6 separate regions of the Homo sapiens genome follow, and all the other regions are linked to region 1. Evidence: promoter capture Hi-C in 16 types of primary human blood cells and fetal thymus (Javierre and others, 2016). All regions are on one chromosome and are shown on one strand. Each heading gives the region's core, a stretch centred on a gene start or on the middle of the fragment in contact. The rest is flanking DNA. Distances are from core to core; before and after follow the strand shown.

Region 1 (2,700 bases), core at 186-2,685:
GCAGGCCGCCCGGTGCAAAGTGCCGTGAGTCATCTTCCCTGAGCCCCTCCTTGGACATTAAGGACCACTTCATCTTCCCGGATGATCCCCTTCTGTGCCACGTGTGCAGCTAAAGTCAGAGGGAGGAAAGCAGCACACTCACTGGTGGAAGAATAGAGAAGGCCGAGCAGCACCAGGAGCACCCCTCGCATCTTGCCATCCCCAGAGAGACCCGCCGCGGACACCATGGGCAGCTGGGGAAACAAAACCCAATGACTCCATCCTCTTCCCAAACACATGCAGGGTTTTCTATGCCTCTTTTTTCCATCCTCTTCCCAAACACACATGTTCCCTCCCAAACATCAGAGGCTCCCCCTCTTTCTACTAACAAAGGTTCCAAGATGTAGGGCACTGACCTGTCTTATCCCTAGTGCTTGGTTCTGTGTGGTAAAGAGGCAGGACCAGTTGGCCCGCACTGTGGTTTGTGAGATGGCCAGAGAAGAGAGGGCAGCTTACTCTTGTCAGTTTTCTTCTCAATCCAGCCCAAGCCCCTGAGCACCCCAGAGAGTTGGGTCTCTGAAAAGGGCTGCTTTTTGACTCGTGGAATTCAACCCTTGCCTTAACTCTGTAGCCATAAAATGCTGCTGAAAGAAAAGTAGAGTTTTAGTGGAAGCCCACCCTGGGATTAATGCCTCTGCTGTGGTTTTACCCTTCTAAACTCTGCTGGCTAAAAGAACGCTAGGGCTTCTGTTAACTGTTAACAGCCTGTTTTTTTGTTTTTTATTTTATTTTATTTTTTTTGAGACTGAGTCTCGCTCCCTTGGCAGGCTGGAGTGCAGTGGCACGAGCTTGGCTCACTGCAACCTCTGCCTCCCAGGTTCAAGCGATTTTCCTGCCTCAGCTTCCTGAGTAGCTGGGACTACAGATGTGCGCCACCACGCCCAGCTAATTTTTGTATTATTTTGTAATATTTTGTAATATTTGTATTTTTAGTACAGATGGGGTTTCGTCACGTTGGCCAGGCTGGTCTCGAACTCCTGACCTCAGGTGATCCACCCGCCTCAGTCTCCCAAAGTGCTGGGATTACCAGCGTGAGCCACCGTGCCCGGCCAATAGCCTGTATCTTTACATAGGAACAGCCCCAGCATTTAGCTTAGTTCATTTGCAAAACCGCGGTAGGAAGTAGACACTCGAGTTATCGCCATTTTACAGATTCAGAAACTGATACTCAGAGACATCAACTAGCCAGTCCAAGGTCACACAGCTGTCAAGCAATGCACAGAAGCCCAAGGAACCCATGTGCACAGTTCTAAGTCACCATGTTCCACTCATGACACTGGATGCCTCTTGTCCTCAGAATGGTCCTCAGAGTTCGTCCATGAACTGTTCCTGCTCAAGGAGAAATGAACTCAGGCTGGCCTGACACAGTAGAGTTCAACAGAAGGATTTCTTCTACTGCCTTGGGAAGAATGTTCCATTGTGGCATCACGGTTACCATGGCACCACCAAGCAACTGTCTGGACATGGGGACTTACGAGGAGCTAGGATGAAAGGCCTCCTTGTTGCTTAGCCTTGGCAGGGCTCTTCTGGAAGCCAGGCTCTCTCCTAGTCTGAGAAGGCAAGCTTTTTGCTGGATTACAAAGTCTTCTCTGGTCGTGGCCACGGTCTGTCTACCCCACTCAGCGCCCGCCCTGTGTCCACACATGCTTGTCAGACTGGACTGAGGAAGCCCACAACTGGGGTGGGTTTGGAATTTCCAGTCCCCGTCAGCATCTTACACTCCCAGGGTGGTTTCTTTCAGACTTAGCCCAGTTTTCTTTAGCCTCTCAGTTTCCGGGTCCAATCTAAGCTACCAGACCAGCTCTGCCAAACCAGAGGCCCAGATGGGATCTGCCACTCCAGCCACTGTGAGCAGCTTTGGTTTCAGCCCAAATGCCAGGACTCGAGAAGTGTCGACAAGGTTGAGGTAAGATGTTAATTCCACGGAGCCACAGGGGGAGGGTGGGCGCACAGGCCTCTGGTGCAGACGCTCAGAAGATCCTTACTGGATGGGTAGATGAATGGCTGATGGAAGGCAGGAAGGCTGGTGAGAAAGTGGAAACTGGCTGGGCACGGTGGCTCACGCCTATAATCCCAGCACTTTGCGAAGCCGAGGCAGGCAAATTGCTTGAGCTCAGGAGTTTGAGGCCAGACTGGGTAACATGGTGAGACCCTGTCTTTTACCAAAAATACAAAAATTTAGCCAGGCGTGGTGGCACACACCTATAGTCCCAGGTACTCGGGAAGCTGAGGTGGAGGTTGCAGTGAGCTGAGATCGCACCACTGCACTACAGCTTGGGCGACAGAGTGACAGCCTGTCTCAAAATAATAATAATAATAATAAAGTGAGGCCTGAGTCCAAAGGGAGCCGCTACCTCCTTCCCCCATGGTTCCCCTGATGTCCTGCCGGCTTCACCACCCTCCCTCACCTTTAACCCTGGGCAGGGGGGCGGGGGTATTGGCTTCTGCTACAAGAACAGAAAATTTTTGGCAGTGGGAGAAGTGCGAGTTGATTCTTTAATTTGTTCCACATCACAGGTATCAAAAAGCTGTATTTTAAATTTTTATTTTTTATTGTTTTTAGAGACAAGTTCTTGCTCTGTTGTCCAGGCTAGAGTACAGTGGTGCAATCACAGCTCACTGCAGCCTCGAACTCCTGGGCTCAAGTGATCCTCCAGCCTC
Region 2 (2,742 bases), core at 38-2,537, 290 kb before region 1:
CTCATCACCTCTCTAGAGACAACTCCATTCCCTTACTCCAAGCCTATAAAGTTCTGGGTAATTGTTGGAAGGTAAAGCCCACCCAGCCCAGGCAAATCTCTAACTCACCACTTTGTGGCAGCATGAGGTAATGCCAGCGAGAGGGAGGAACTTTCAGAGTCAGATGCAACCCACTTCCAGGTTCCCAGCTCATCTGCCTCTTACATTTAAAAGTTTGTAAGTTTTCTCCTGAGCAGAGGAAGAAGGAAGGAGAAGCCTTCACAGGACAGTCTGGCCTCTAACTGCTCTGCCAAAGAAATGTAAGAGTCAGGCTAAAAGCTGTCATCCTCAGCATCTTCCGGAAGGGAGGGAGGAGAGGAGCGGCTGCTCTGGGTGGAGGCAGCAGGTTGCTTGAGCAAGCAGGTACCACTCTAAGCCTTCTCGGGACAGAGAGGGGGAAGGTGGGCTTCTCTGAGCGCCTGTAGGTCCGCTGTGCCAACCCACTGTTTTGTTTGCTTTTTCTGGCATGAATGGCTGTCAGACAGTGTCCCCTGGCTTGGTCTGCAGCACCCCCTGCCCACCCTGGCCCTCCTGCAGCAAGGTGCAGCCAGGAAGCCTCTGTGATCACTCCGCAAAGGGGAGAGAGGAGGCAAGGAGAGGCAGGGGAGGCCCCCCACCTGCGCCCCACCCCGTCTCTTCTTCCTCCCTGAGAAACCGAATGAAAGCCGATCACCTCCCGCCGGCCCTGCCTGCAGGCCCAGCTGGGCTGCGTCCTGTCAGCCCTCGTCCGGGATGGCCCGGCCGCTGCGACCCGAGGGCGAGCCCCGAGGGCGGCCGGGCTGGAGAAAGGCCCCAGGGCTACAGGCCGGGCCCAGGAAGCGGCTGCGCCTCGAGGCCCGGCCTGGGCCGCCCAGAAGCTCAAGAGGCCGCTAGGTCGCGGCGGAGGGGCGCGGGGGGGCGGCCGGGCCGGCAGAGGAAGGGGTGCGGCGGGCGCGGGGGTGGCCCCCAGATGCGGCCCCGGGCGCCCCGCCGCTCACCTGCTCCAGGCCGCCTGCAGGGCAGGCGCGGGGCGAGCGGCGACCAGCTGCTCTCTCGGCCGCCCCTTTATTCCGGCTCCATCCGCGGCGGCGCGGCCTACGCGCGCTGCCAATCCCCGGCCTCGCGTAGCGGCTGCGGCCGGACCGGGGGCGGGGGACGGGCTAGCGGCGGCCGGAACGGAGGAAGCGACGCGCGCTGCCGGAGTAGCGGGGCCGGGGCGAGGAGCGCCGGGAGGGCGGGCGGACGGACCGATGGCCTTGCGGAGACGGGCGGACGGGCGGGCGGCGCGGGGGCCAGGGAGGCGGGGCCGGGGGAGGAGCGGCATCCCGGGCGGCGGCGGCCAATGCGGGAGGAGCGGGCGGCGCGGAGCGAGGCCGCCCCCTGCCGGGGACCCCGTGGCCGGGCCAGGTCGGACAAGCCGGGTGCTCCGGGCGGTTTTCGAGTCGCCAGGCCTGGGCGCCTCGACTAACCGAGGAAGGGCGCTCTGCTTCCGGCCACCCCGCTCGGGCTTAGGGGAGGGGGCTCCGGGTGACCGCCCTCGGCCCGGCTCTGCGCAGGAGAGGAGGGGCCTCCTAGAGGCTCTGGTCTGCCACAATTGATCCGCCCCTAACTGCTCAGCTTGGCTTTTAGGGGCTTGGACTTTGGGCTGGTTTGAGGAGGGGGCTCCAGGACCTCTGATCCTGGCCGGGCTCGGGGCAGGCAGGGGTCTCCGCTGGGTCTAGTGCGCTGACCCGGGACTGTCGTGTCTGGTATGTCTGGTCCCGGGTGGCTGCAGACAGCAGCGGGCAGAAAGGTGAGGGCCCTGAGCGATATATGAAATGGGTACACGAAGGCTGGGGAGGTCCCAGCGGGGTGCCGGGAGGCTGCAGGTGACCAGATCCGCGTGCGCAGCCGGCAGACAGCTTGGAGTCGGTGGGCTGAATCTTCACCACTGTCCTGCCGGGTTCCGCCCCTCCCGGCTCCGCCCCGAGGCGGTGCCAGCCCAGGCCCCGCCCCTGGGAGGGCGCTTCCGGCACAGCGGAACTCCGGGTGCCGGTTGAGGTTGCTGGTGGACCTGCTCTGGTGGTCTTGGATGAGGCCCCATGAGCGCGGCGCCCCTGGTGGGCTACAGCAGCAGCGGCTCCGAGGATGAGTCCGAGGACGGGATGCGGACCAGGCCGGGGGATGGGAGCCACCGTCGGTGAGGAGTGAGGAAGTCTCTCCGGAGGGCGCGCGCATTCACCCTAGAGCCAGACGGGACCCGAATGTCTGGGGGTGGAGTGGGGAGGGAGGATGCGGGGCGGCTCTGGGAAGGAAAAGGGGACGCAGGAAGAAAGGAGGATCCAGAAGATATACCCCTCCCCCCCACCCCAGACAAAGCTCCAGAGTGGCCCCACCTGGCTAGGGCCAAGTTGGGAGGCCAGACCTGGGTTCGGGTCCAGCCTCGCGCTGGCCCACTCTATCGCCTGGCACACATCCCTGTACCATCCTAGGTCCGTTTCCTGATTTGAATACAATTGCGATAGTAATACTTGCTAAAGCGTAGGGAGAGCCTTTTCATTCATCCAGTAAATATTCACTGAGCACCCACTCCCTGCCAGGCTGGGGTCTGGTAATTCAGTGGTGAACAAAACCGTCGGCCTTACTTCCTGGGGCTTAGATTCTTAAATGCTAGGCCTTATCTTTGCTGAGTGCTTTACAAGCAGTAGCTCAGTTGATCCCACAATTGCTCTATCAGGTAGACAT
Region 3 (2,819 bases), core at 108-2,607, 420 kb before region 1:
CTGGGACTATAGGCATGTGCCACCACCCCTGGCTAATTTTTATTATATATATATATTTGGTGGAGTCGGGTTTTCGCCATGTTACCTAGACTGGTATTGAACTCCTGGGCTCAAGTGATCCTGCTGCCTCAGCCTCTCAAAGTGCTGTGGTTACAGGTGTGAGCCAGCGCACCTGGCCCTGATTTTAAAACTTATTACTTACATTTGACTTATATGTGGAAGTTTTCCATGGTATCTGAATTATTCTTTTGAACCTGCCTGGAAACACTTCACGTGACCCTCTCCTCTACCCACTTTTCATTAAGGAACACTTGATTTCAGAAATTTGGAAATGCGGCTGGGTGCGGTGGATCATTTGAGGTCAGGAGTTCAAGACCAGCCTAGCCAGCATGGTGAAACACTGTCTCCACTAAAAATACAAAGATTAGCCGGGCGGTAGTGGCGCGCACCTGTATTTCTAGACACTCTGGAGGCGGAGGCAGGAGAATTGCTTTAGTCTGGGAGGCGGAGGTTGCGGTGAGCCAAGATTGCACCACTGCACTCAAGCCTGGGCGACAGAGCGAGACTCTGTCAAAAAAAAAAAAAAAAAAAAAAAGAAAAGAAAAAAGAAAGGAAGGAAGGAAGGAAAGAAAAGGAAGAAATTTGGAAATGTGAAAGGTGGGGACCCAGTCTCCCGAGACTCTTGATAATGCGCTCTGGAGCCATTTGTCTAGTTAACTGCCTTGATTAGAAAGGATCCTAAAGCTTCTCTCACCTCCCTCCGGGAGACGGCCAAATGGCCACAGCCGAGCCTAGGTCTCTTGGCTAGCTCCAAAATGCCGGGAAGACTCCGGCGCTATCTCCCTAGGTATTTATATGTCAAAGGGAGAAAGTCCCAGAACTTGAAGACCCCTCCAGGTGGTTAAAGCTGAGACACCTGGGGCTATCTCGTTCCGGGTGAGGCTTTATTTACATATCAAAGGGCTGGGGTTAGGTTTCGGGCCCATTAAGTTTCCAAGGAGACCCTTTCAAAAAGGGAGGGGAATAGCTACCTCCTTCGCCTTTATAAGCAGAGAAAACTTGTCCTTCATCTATGGAGTGTCAGGCTACTTGCACGGGACATTTCCTGGCCAGGAGTAAGGCTTAAGGGGAGGCTGGGAGCGGAGGCTATGTACTTATTATTTGCTAAAAGGTAATTAATATAAAATCTGTCTCTGATCCCAAACACCTGTGTGTGTGCATTCAGGATAAAATTAATAAAGATAAATATTAAAAAACCACTGGCAGGCCAGACGTGGTGGCTCACATCTGTAATCTCAACACTTTGGGAGGCCAAGATGAAAGGATTGTTTGAGTTAGGGAGTTCGAGACCAGCCTGGGCAACATAGGGAGACCCCCGACTTGTCCCCACCACCCCCTATCCCCCGTCTCTACAAATAGTTAAAAAAAAATAGCCAGGTGTGGAGGTGCATGTCTGTGGCAGGAGGATCACCTGAGTCCTGGAGGTCGAGGCTGCAGTGAGCTGTGATTGAACCACTGTACTCCAGCGTGGGTGACAGAGCAAGACCCTGTCTCAAAAACAAGAACAATGAAACACTGACAGGACAGGCTGGACGTGGTCGTACATGCCTGTAATCCCAGCAAGGAGGCAGAAGGATTGCTTGAGGCATGGAGTTCTAGACCAGTCTGGGCAACATAATGATACCCCATCTCTATAAAAAACAAAAACCACTAACAGCAGCCTGGGGTGGGTGCTTTCCCTCTTCCTCCACCAATCATGATTGGCTCTGGAGAAGGGGCATGCCAGGATGGCTCTGGCCCAAGGTTGGCCCTAGAGGGTGCAGCCCCAATTGCTCTGGGCAGGAGAGACACTCATCCTCACCTTGCAGAATTGCCAGATAAAAACACAGGGCACCAAGTTGAATTTGAATTTTGGATAAATAACAATTTTTTTTAGCATAAGTATATCCCAAGTATTGCATGAGATATACTTAAGCTTAAAAAAAAAAACCTTCATTGTTTATCTGAAATTCAAATTTACCTGGGCTTTCTGTATTTTTACTTGCTAAATCTGGAACTCAACCATGGTGACCAGGGAAGAGGACCCCCTGGAGATGCCAACACCTTATGCCCATTGAAAGAATAATACAAGGGCTAGGAGCAATGGCTGACGCCTGTAATCCCAGTACTTTGGGAGCCCAAGGTGGCAGGATCACTTGAGGTCAGGAGTTCGAAACCAGCCTGGCCATCATGGTGAAACCGCATCTCTACCAAAAATACAAAAATTAGCCGGAAATCACTTGAACTCGGGAGGCAGAGGTTGTAGTAAGCTGAGATCACGCCATTGCACTCCAGCCTGGGCAACAGAACAATACTCCATCTCAAAAAATAAATAAATTAAATAAGGGCACTCAGGCCGTCTTTCTTTTCATTTCAGAAGAGATATCGAAGGAGATAGTGCTCAGGAAATTGAATCTAGGAAATGTTACTCACAATTTTTTGGTTACAATGAGTTTATCAAGCATCCTTTGAATCTTCTTCCTTTTTTTTTCTTTTTTTTTTAACAGAGTCTTGCTCTGTCACCCAGGCTGGAGTAGTACAGTGGTGTGATCTCGGCTCACCACAACCTCCACCTCTCGGGTTCAAGCAATTCTCCTGCCTCAGCCTCCCGAGCATCTGGGACCACACACGCGTGCCACCACGCCCGGCTACTTTTTGTATTTTTAGTAGAGTAGGGGTGTCAGCATCTTGGCCAGGCTGGTCTTGAACTCCTGACCTCATGTGATCCACCCGTCTCAGCCTCCCAAAGTGCTGGGATTACTGCGCCTGGCCCTGAATCT
Region 4 (2,745 bases), core at 71-2,570, 390 kb after region 1:
GAGGAAACATTCCTCTGCTGGCTCGAAACCCAGAAAGATCTGTCAGATGTCACAGGGCTTACACATCCTCTTACACATCCTGTCACCCAACCAGCAACTCAGCAAAATCAAAGCAGTGAGCAGCGAAGGCAGAGTCTTGGGACTCCCAGGCTTCCAGTGTAGCTAGAGAAAGAACCCTGCAAAGTGACCACTGCCAGAGCTGTGACCATCTCCTCCCCGCTGCTCACGTCACAGAGACAGAGGTCTACAGAGTGATTCGTCCAAGGTCACAAGGCTTGGTGCGGCTTCCTGACTCTCCAACCAAAATGTTTCCCTTGGGCACCCCTGCCCGAGTCCTGCACCATCCTCCAGCCTCTCCTGCCACCCACATGAGAGTGCAGGCTGGGGTCCTCGTGGAACTCAGAAGCTGGGGGTCCCACCTCTTGCAGATTCTCTGCCTTGGTTAAGACCTCTCGGCACCCCCACTGCTCACTGGCAAATTACTCAGCTCATTGTTGCACCTTACCTGCTCTTTCTCCCTGATGGGCTGTGCCAGAGGCGGTTGCTCCTTCTCCCCAAAGGTCTGGGATCTGATTCTCCTCACTTCCCTTTCTGGACCCAATTTCTTCTTTCTCAAGACTTTGCCTAAAATTTGCTGTCAGCAGAGGGAAGAGTTTGGGCTACTTCTGTGCTGGCTTCAGCAGAGCTGGAGGAAACTGAGCGGCTCTCACGCTTACTCATGAAATGGAGCTTCAGGACAGATAGGAAAACAGGCCCAGGAGGGAGAGGTTAGACTAAGGTCACAGTGGGTAGCTGGCAGAGCCAGAATAGAAGCCTGATGCCCACATGCTCAGGCCAGCGATGTAGGCCCCTCAGATCCCAACTGGAGTGTGCTCCCAGTCCAGCCTGGGGTTGGAGCCCTGAGATAGAAAGGGTGGGCTGCTTTGTGAGGTGAGGCTTTGTGAGGTGAGCCAGGGCGCACCCGGGCCAGGAGGCCGGGGCGGGGCGATTCCCAGGCCTGGAGCGAGAAGGGTGGGCTACTGTGGGGTAACCTGGGGAGGAGCTCCGGGACCCGATCCCGGCCTAGGACTGGGTGGAGACCCTCTGGCTGGGTAAAGGCGCGGCAGAGCTGGCGCAACAGAGGGACGGGCGTGGGGCGAGGACGCCAGGATCTGGACCCCTGCAGGGAAAGGGTCTGAGCTTTTCCGCGGTGGCGGGGACTGAGGGGCTCCACAGACCTCGGGGATCTAACACTTCCACCCTCCAGAGCCTGTCTCCGGCCACCTACCTTGGGGGATTCTTTCCCGAGCCGGCTGCGGAGACACGTGAGCATGCATCACATGACGCCCGCTCGGGCGGCCGCGGGACACGCTGGGAGTTGTAGTTTCCGCAAATGTGAAGCTTGGACAACACCAGCTCCCTGAATCCTCAGCCCGACAGCACTGCCCTGAGCCAGCCTCGCGTCCAGCCAGCTCGTGTTTATCCTCTTACTTTTAGTCTTGGCCTCTTGACCAAATCAAACACTGCTCCTTCCTCCAAGGAAGAGCATTAGGAGGTCTGGCCTCTTTGCCAGTCCCGGTGGCGGTGGGCCAAAGCTGTTTGGCCTCATTATCCTCCCGGTCTCTGTCCTTGCCTTCACGCCCATGGCCAGAGCACTGGAGTTTTTTTTTAATCAGTAATGTGGGGGACCTGGAGCCACGGTCTTTCCTGCAAGGGAGTGGGCTGGGGGCATGGTTACGACCCCATCGGTTTAGACTCTAGAACAGTTTTTGAGGGATTGTAGGTGCTCAGTAAATATTTGTTGAATGACGAAATGGGCATCCAGTCCTGGTTCTGTTCTTGGCTGTGTGTCACTCATAAATTGTCACGTAATCTCCAGCATCCCAATAGCCTCATCTCTGTTTTGTGGATATGCTCTCCACTGCACTTACCTCTCCATGCATCAGAGGTCCTCACCGATGAGGACACACTGGGAATCCTTAGAAACCCAAATCACACCTTTTTTTTTTTTTTTTTTTTTTTTTTTTTTGAGACAGAGTCTCACTCTGTCTCCCCGGCTGGGGTGCAGTGGCACGATCTTTGCTCACTGCAACCTCTGCCTCCCGGGTTCATGTGATTCTCCTGCCTCAGCCTCCCGAGTACCTGGGATTACAGGCATGCACCACCACTCCCAGCTAATTTTTGTATTTTTAGTAGAGATGGGGTTTCGCCATGTTGGCCAGGTTGGTCTCAAACTCCTGACCTCAAGTGATCCACCCACCTCAGCCTCCCAAAGTGCTGGGATTACAGGCATGAGCCACCGTGCCTGGCCTCCAAAAAGTTTATATAAATTGAATCATACTGGTTGAGTGCGGTGGCTCACACCTGTAATCCCAGCACTTTGGGAGGCCAAGGCGGGCTGATCACTTGAGGTCAGGAGTTCGAGACCAGCCTGGCCAACATGGCGAAGTCCTGTCTCTATTAAAAATACAAAAATTAGCTGGGCATGGTGGTGCACGCCAGTAGTCCCAGCTACTCGGGAGCCTGAGGCAGGAGAATCACTTGAACCCGGGGGGCGGAGGTGGCGGTGAGCAGAGATCGTGCCACTGCACTCCAGCCTGGGAGACAGAGTGAGACTCTGTCTCAAAAAAAAAAAAAAAAATAGAATCATACTGTCTTAATCAGTTAAGGCCGCTATAACAGAGTATCATAGACTGGGTGGTTTAAACGACAGAGATTTATTTTTCACCGTCCTGGAAGCTGTCAAGACTGAGGTCAGAATGCCAG
Region 5 (2,700 bases), core at 27-2,526, 480 kb after region 1:
CTCCCACAGATACAAATAAATAAACCATAACTAAAATTTAGTGAGCACTTCTGTGTCAGACAGCAGGCCAAGTACCTGACATGTATTATCTCATGAAATCCTCATACATGAAGTTCCCATATCCAGTGAAGTAGGAATCATTCTTATTCCCATCTTATAAGCAAGTGGAAGATGGCAGAGATTAAATAAATAACCCCAGGTCAAATACCTGATCAATGATGATGCCAGGATTCAAGTCCCTTGGAGTTGGATTTGTTGTACTCTGAGAGGGAGCTGAGTGCACTGGTTAAGAACTCAGTCCTGTAGGTCGTCATACTGTAGTAAATGCTATGAGAGAGGGTTCAGAGAATAAAGATCTCTTCTATTTGGGGGTTCAGAAAAGTCTTCAGGAAAGGTGCCATTTGAGTTGCATGTTGATGTTTAGGAACAATTTAGACCTGAACAAATTTGGGAATTAAGGATTTCTCGTAGGCAGAAAACATCATAATATATATGTGGGAAGAGGAAGCAGAGGCATGCACTGAGACTAGCAATCAGTTCAGCTTGGGTGGCCTCTAGAATTCAAGGAAGGAGACAGCAAGAGCTGTTGGAGATGGGAAGTTTGGGGTCAGATTATGAAAATAGTTGAATACCAGGCTGAGATATTTGGGCCTTTATTTAGTGGAAACTAGGGAGACATTTAGTGTTTTGGAACAAGAGCTTTATTTTTAAAGGTTAAAATCCCTGGCCGGGTGCAGTGGCTCACGCATGTAATCCCAGCATTTTGGGAGGTTGAGGTAGGCAGGTCAGGAGTTCGAGACCAGCTTGGCCACTATAGTGAAACCCCATCTCTACTAAAAATACAAAAATTAGCCGGGCATGGTGGCATGCACCTGTAGTCCCAGCTACTCAGGAGGCTGAGGCAGGAGAATCGCTTGAAACCAGAAGGCAGAGGTTGCAGTGAGCTGAGCTCGTGCTGCTGCACTCCAGCCTGGGCAACAGAGCGAGACTCCATCTCAAAAAAAAAAAAAAAAAATCACAGGGTAGACCTGAAACACTGAAATGGAGATACTGGAGGCAGGATGAACAAAGCGAAATGCTTTTTCAATGTCAGTTGAGAGGGAAACTTTATACTGACCATCCATTGGAGTGGTGAAGAGATACGGAATAGTAGAGATATTGAAGAGTTTGGTAGTTGAGGAAGGAGTCAAAAATAGATCTAGAATATCCAGCCTGAGTAACCAAAAGAATAGAGATGGGGCAGACTTGGAGAACATATAATTATTTAAATTTGAGGGCTACAGAATTGACTTCAAACAGCGCTGTTGACCTTGCGGGGGGCCAAGGTGGACTTCTGGGAGTTGGTCCAAAGGTGAGAGCCATTTATAATGAAGAAACATGACACTTTTCCTTTTAATTAATTTTGCAAGATATTGCAGACCAGTGACCTGGTTTTCTCCTTTTCTCTTCATTACTCTCAATTATTTCCAAAATTAGTCAGATGCAGTGGCCCACACTTGTAGTCTTAGCTACTCAGGAGATAGAGGTGAGAGGATTACTTGAGCCCAAAAGTTCTGGGCTGTAGTGCGCTATGCCCATGGGTGTCCATGCTAAGTTCAGTGTCAGTATGATGACTCTTGGGAGCTGGAGACTGCCAGGCTGCCTAAGGAGGGGTGAACTGGCCCAGGTCAGTAATAGAGCAGGTCAAAACTCCCGTGCTGCTCAGCAGTGAGATCATGCCTGTGAATAGCCACTGCACTCCAGCCTGGGCAACATAATGAGACCCCATCTCTTAAAACAAACAAGCAAACAAACCTCAAAGTAACCCAAACCCAGTGATGTTTCTGGCCTGCTCCATTGGCTTTTACTATCCTCCACCCACATCCCTCTGCCTGCTACCCTCACATCAACATCATAAGAGGTACTGCCTTGTATCAGGGCAATTGGTGCTCAATGGGGCACTATGACTTGATCATCTGCTTTACATGTAAAGAAAGTGAGATAGAGAAAAGTTAAATGACCAGCACAACGTAAAACCAGGATATGTGTGTTGACCTGAGTCCGTGCAGGAGGGAGGGCATTTATGACCTTTATTCACAGGGTATGGGATGGTGGAAGGCCAAGTCATGGTCGGATGAAACAAATAGGTAGGGGAGGGATGAGTATTGCTTTGTGACCTGGCAGCATCAGCACTAATCCTGGGATAAGTAGAGCTGTGAACCGCTGACTCAGTTTCCTTTGCAGAGGCTCAAAAATGCAAGGTATTTACTTGATAAGAGCCCTAATAGGTTCAGGACAGAAGATTCTGTAATGGTGCTGTGATTAAGGACTTTCATTCTGATTAGAATTACACTCTAGCAAATGAGTGTGAACTGTCGGAACTTAAGTAGCTGCTCAACAGAATGAATGCAGTCATTTCTGAAGTGGCTTGTTAACTTATTATTTCCTACCATTCTGCCTCATTACCGACACTCACCCTCATCGTTCATCAAGATTGGTAGCCCCTTGAGGAGGAGAAGAGGAGTGGGAGATGGTATAAGTTGTCTGTACCAGGTCCCATGCTGAAGGGAAAGGGCCCACATAGGAGCAGGTTTCCAAGAGCTTCTACAATTGTTAAGGACCTCCTAGGTGAAGCTATTGTTACCTGCGTGCATATGCTAAAACAATACTACTGTTAATATTTGTAATAGTAACAGTGACAATAACAACTGTCACTTATTT
Region 6 (2,701 bases), core at 5-2,504, 320 kb before region 1:
GATCTGCTCACCTCAGCCTCCCAAAGTGCTGGGATTACAGGTGTGAGCCATCGTGCCTCACAATATACTTTCATTTCTCTTGGGAAGCCTCCTGGGGTAGAATCTTCCAGATGACCCAATCATATGGTACATTTCTGTTTCATTTTTTAAGAAACTGATAAACTGTTTTAAAAGTAGTACTCCATGTCTTGACCAGGGTGGGTGGTAGTTATACGGGGTCTCATTTTGTAAATTATTAGTTACATTAGATATTTATTCACTTTCTGTATTTCTTCTATTTTATAACTTTAAAAGAGTCAAGAAATAAATTGGGGGTGGGGTGGTGAGTGGAGTCAACTCTGGGAAGGTTTTTTGTAAGGGGTAGCAGTTAGGAATGCTGTTCTGGAAGCTGTATGGAGCACTGGAGGAGGAGCAACTGGGGAAACAAATCCTACAAGAATTTCACAGGAGGGGCTCCAAGACCCATCAGGTTCAGCCCCTGGGCAGGTATATGCAAAAGCACATGCCAATATATGCAAATAAGTTAGGATCTCCTGGGGTTTCCTCACCTTGGGGGTCTGTCTCTAATGGTTGTGACCAGGATGGTGGGCAGGCCCCAGGGCTTTGGGGTGCTGGCCTTGGGCACTCACAGCCTGGCTTTTCTGGGAGCCTGCAGTCCTGCAGGGGCTGAGGGTGGAGTATCATCTGCTAATCCCTGGCCTGCTGAGTCCACCACTCTCCCTGATCCCCTCACGCTTACCCTGGATACTGGCCACAGCTAATCTCCACTCCTGGAGACTCAAGGGCTGGCAGACAGTGCAGTGCCCTCTTCCCTGAGGGTTCCAGGGAGGGGAGATCCCTCTCAGCATCCAGATCCTCCTAACGGCAGATCCTAGAGTCCTTGCCTAACACAGAGGAGAGCCTTGAGTCCCAGAGAGAGGCGGTAATTAGCCCAGGATTACACAGCCTGCAGTGGGCTCAGTAGCCATTTCTGGCCTGCCTTGGCCTGACTACCTCCAGGGAACCCCAGCTCCCCATCTGACATTTCCCAAGATGCCTGGCCTGTGCTAAGGCCTGGGAGACCACAGCCTTCAGGAAGGCTGGAAGGGAGTGGCCAGAGCACAGGAATTCTGGCACAGGCTCTTGTTAGAGCCTGTAGTTGCCAGGGTTGCTAAGGAGTGGGTGCCTCAGAATCAGGCTGCAATGGGCATTGTCTGTGCACAATGTTCCTTTATTCTGCTGCTGTCCATAATAAGGGCTCGTCCACCTCCCTTCCTCTTCTGCCCATTGAGCAGTCAAAGAACTGAAAGTCCTTATAAGCCTGTGCACCTGGGCCTGGGCCCTACAGATAAGGTAGCTGCTATTGGTGAGTCAGAAGCAGGGAGCCCTTGCTCTCTTCCCCATATCCGTGATCCCCCTCCCTGTCCCTCCCCAGGCAGTCACATCCCCTAAGGCAGCTTCCCCATGCCTTGTCACCATGCCCCCTCCCTGCTCCTCCATGATCTAAGGTCCTCTCTCCTCCTGCCACCCTAGCTTCCACCTCCACCTCTCACCTCTAACTCAGGGTCAGGAAGAAAGCAAGCTGTCTCAACAAATTCTCACTAAAGTGTAAATGACTGAAAGGCTCCTGGGACTATCTGCTTTTTAAAGGGAGGCACTGGGTATCCAGTAATGCTTTTCTAGTTTAAATATATCATGTTGCTCCCCTTCCTGAAAATCTTTCTGAGTCAATCTGTAGAATTTTGGGTAAATAGCTAGGGCAAGTCCATAATTATTCACCCAGAGGTATACGGCATACTAAGCTACATTCTGAACCCGCTTGCTGCTGCACTTTCCTGCTTATTATTTAAGAATAGACTCGCCAGGCAAGGTGGCTCACACCTGTAATCCCAGCACTTTGAGAGGCTGAGGCGGGTGGATCACTTGAGGTCAGGAGTTCGAGACCAGCCTGGCCAACACAGTGAAACCCCGTCTCTACTAAAAATACAAAAACTAGTCACATGTGGTGGTGGATGCCTATAATCCCAGTTCCTCAGGAGGCTGAGGCAGGAGAATCACTTGAACCCAGGAGACAGAGGTTGCATTGAGCCAAGATGGCGCCACTGTACTTCAGTCTGAGCAGAAGAGTGAGACTGTCTCAAAAAAAAAAAAAAAAAGAAAAGAAAGAAAGAAAAAAAAACGAATAGACTCAAATACCACCTCTTTTAGACCATTCCTTGAATGTCCTAACCCCAGCCTCCCCAGAAACACACACTCTGTACTGACCTCCCTCACAGCCATGGCACAATGTGAGTGTGTGTGTGTGTGTGTGTGTGTGTATGTGTGTGTTGGAAGGGGAGTGGGAGGGTTGTCTCTGTTATCTTCTGTTATCTGAATGTTCCTGCCACCTCATGCTGAGCTCCAGAAAAATGGCCTGGCACACAGTAGGTGCTAAATAAATGTTTGGCAAGTAGACATCGGCACTGGCCAAGGTTGTTTTCATGCAGAGAAGGGTGTCTGGCCAGCATGAGCCCAGGGTGAGCCCCTTAGAACCCTCTGCCCCCCAGCTATGGCCCGCATCATTGACCTGGTGCCCTGGGACGATGGCTCCACACATGTGTATGCCTCCCCGGCCATCCTGCTTCCCATGGAGCGGCAGCGCAACCAGCTGGCGGGCGTGAAGCAGCAGCTCTACCACCCAGCCCTGCCCACCCTGCGCCACATGGACAGGGACACCGTCAAG

What was found. Contacts are between HindIII fragments. The CHiCAGO score rates a contact against its expected background, and 5 or more counts as called.
Region 2: the fragment with the promoter of ZNF319 here is called in contact with the fragment with the promoter of PRSS54 in region 1 in 2 of 17 cell types (M2 macrophages and fetal thymus); the score reaches 6.3 in M2 macrophages.
Region 3: a contact is called between a fragment that was not itself captured here and the fragment with the promoter of PRSS54 in region 1, in 2 of 17 cell types (naive CD8 T cells and total CD4 T cells). The highest score is 7.6, in naive CD8 T cells.
Region 4: a contact is called between the fragment with the promoter of SLC38A7 here and the fragment with the promoter of PRSS54 in region 1, in 7 of 17 cell types (M0 macrophages, total B cells, M2 macrophages and 4 more). The highest score is 7.1, in M0 macrophages.
Region 5: a fragment that was not itself captured here is called in contact with the fragment with the promoter of PRSS54 in region 1 in 1 of 17 cell types (total CD4 T cells); the score reaches 5.8 in total CD4 T cells.
Region 6: a contact is called between the fragment with the promoter of SPMIP8 here and the fragment with the promoter of PRSS54 in region 1, in 11 of 17 cell types (fetal thymus, naive CD8 T cells, total B cells and 8 more). The highest score is 14.5, in fetal thymus.

Annotation. Positions count from the first base shown.
Region 1 is chr16:58,293,590-58,296,289 of GRCh38, forward strand. PRSS54 (serine protease 54) reads right to left here and starts at 1,436. Exons shown (of 7, transcript NM_001305173.2): 1 at 1,298-1,436; 2 at 396-620; 3 at 143-233. The coding sequence starts at 227. The HindIII fragment of the contact is 4,073 bases long and covers 1-1,600 here.
Region 2 is chr16:57,999,385-58,002,126 of GRCh38, forward strand. It overlaps ZNF319 (zinc finger protein 319), which reads right to left and starts at 1,288. Exons shown (of 2, transcript NM_020807.3): 1 at 109-1,288. It overlaps USB1 (U6 snRNA biogenesis phosphodiesterase 1), which reads left to right and starts at 2,023. Exons shown (of 7, transcript NM_024598.4): 1 at 2,023-2,197. The coding sequence starts at 2,100. RefSeq lists enhancers at 372-641, 1,499-1,668, 1,841-2,135, 2,162-2,261 and silencers at 762-891, 942-1,541, 1,832-2,081. The HindIII fragment of the contact is 9,268 bases long and covers 1-2,742 here.
Region 3 is chr16:57,872,499-57,875,317 of GRCh38, forward strand. No RefSeq gene overlaps it. Among named protein-coding and RNA genes, the nearest start is that of KIFC3, 71 kb to the left of the region's middle. RefSeq lists an enhancer at 636-1,163. The HindIII fragment of the contact is 1,231 bases long and covers 743-1,973 here.
Region 4 is chr16:58,683,450-58,686,194 of GRCh38, forward strand. SLC38A7 (solute carrier family 38 member 7) reads right to left here and starts at 1,321. Exons shown (of 12, transcript NM_018231.3): 1 at 1,268-1,321; 2 at 506-729. RefSeq lists enhancers at 693-1,537, 1,048-1,107. The HindIII fragment of the contact is 5,837 bases long and covers 1-1,378 here.
Region 5 is chr16:58,769,049-58,771,748 of GRCh38, forward strand. The region is part of intron 2 of LOC107984867 (a long non-coding RNA gene); the gene reads left to right. It also overlaps the pseudogene RN7SL143P. Among named protein-coding and RNA genes, the nearest start is that of GOT2, 36 kb to the left of the region's middle. The HindIII fragment of the contact is 3,631 bases long and covers 1-2,700 here.
Region 6 is chr16:57,975,290-57,977,990 of GRCh38, forward strand. SPMIP8 (sperm microtubule inner protein 8) reads left to right here and starts at 1,255. Exons shown (of 8, transcript NM_199456.3): 1 at 1,255-1,345; 2 at 2,526-2,701. The coding sequence starts at 2,528. The HindIII fragment of the contact is 9,202 bases long and covers 1-2,701 here.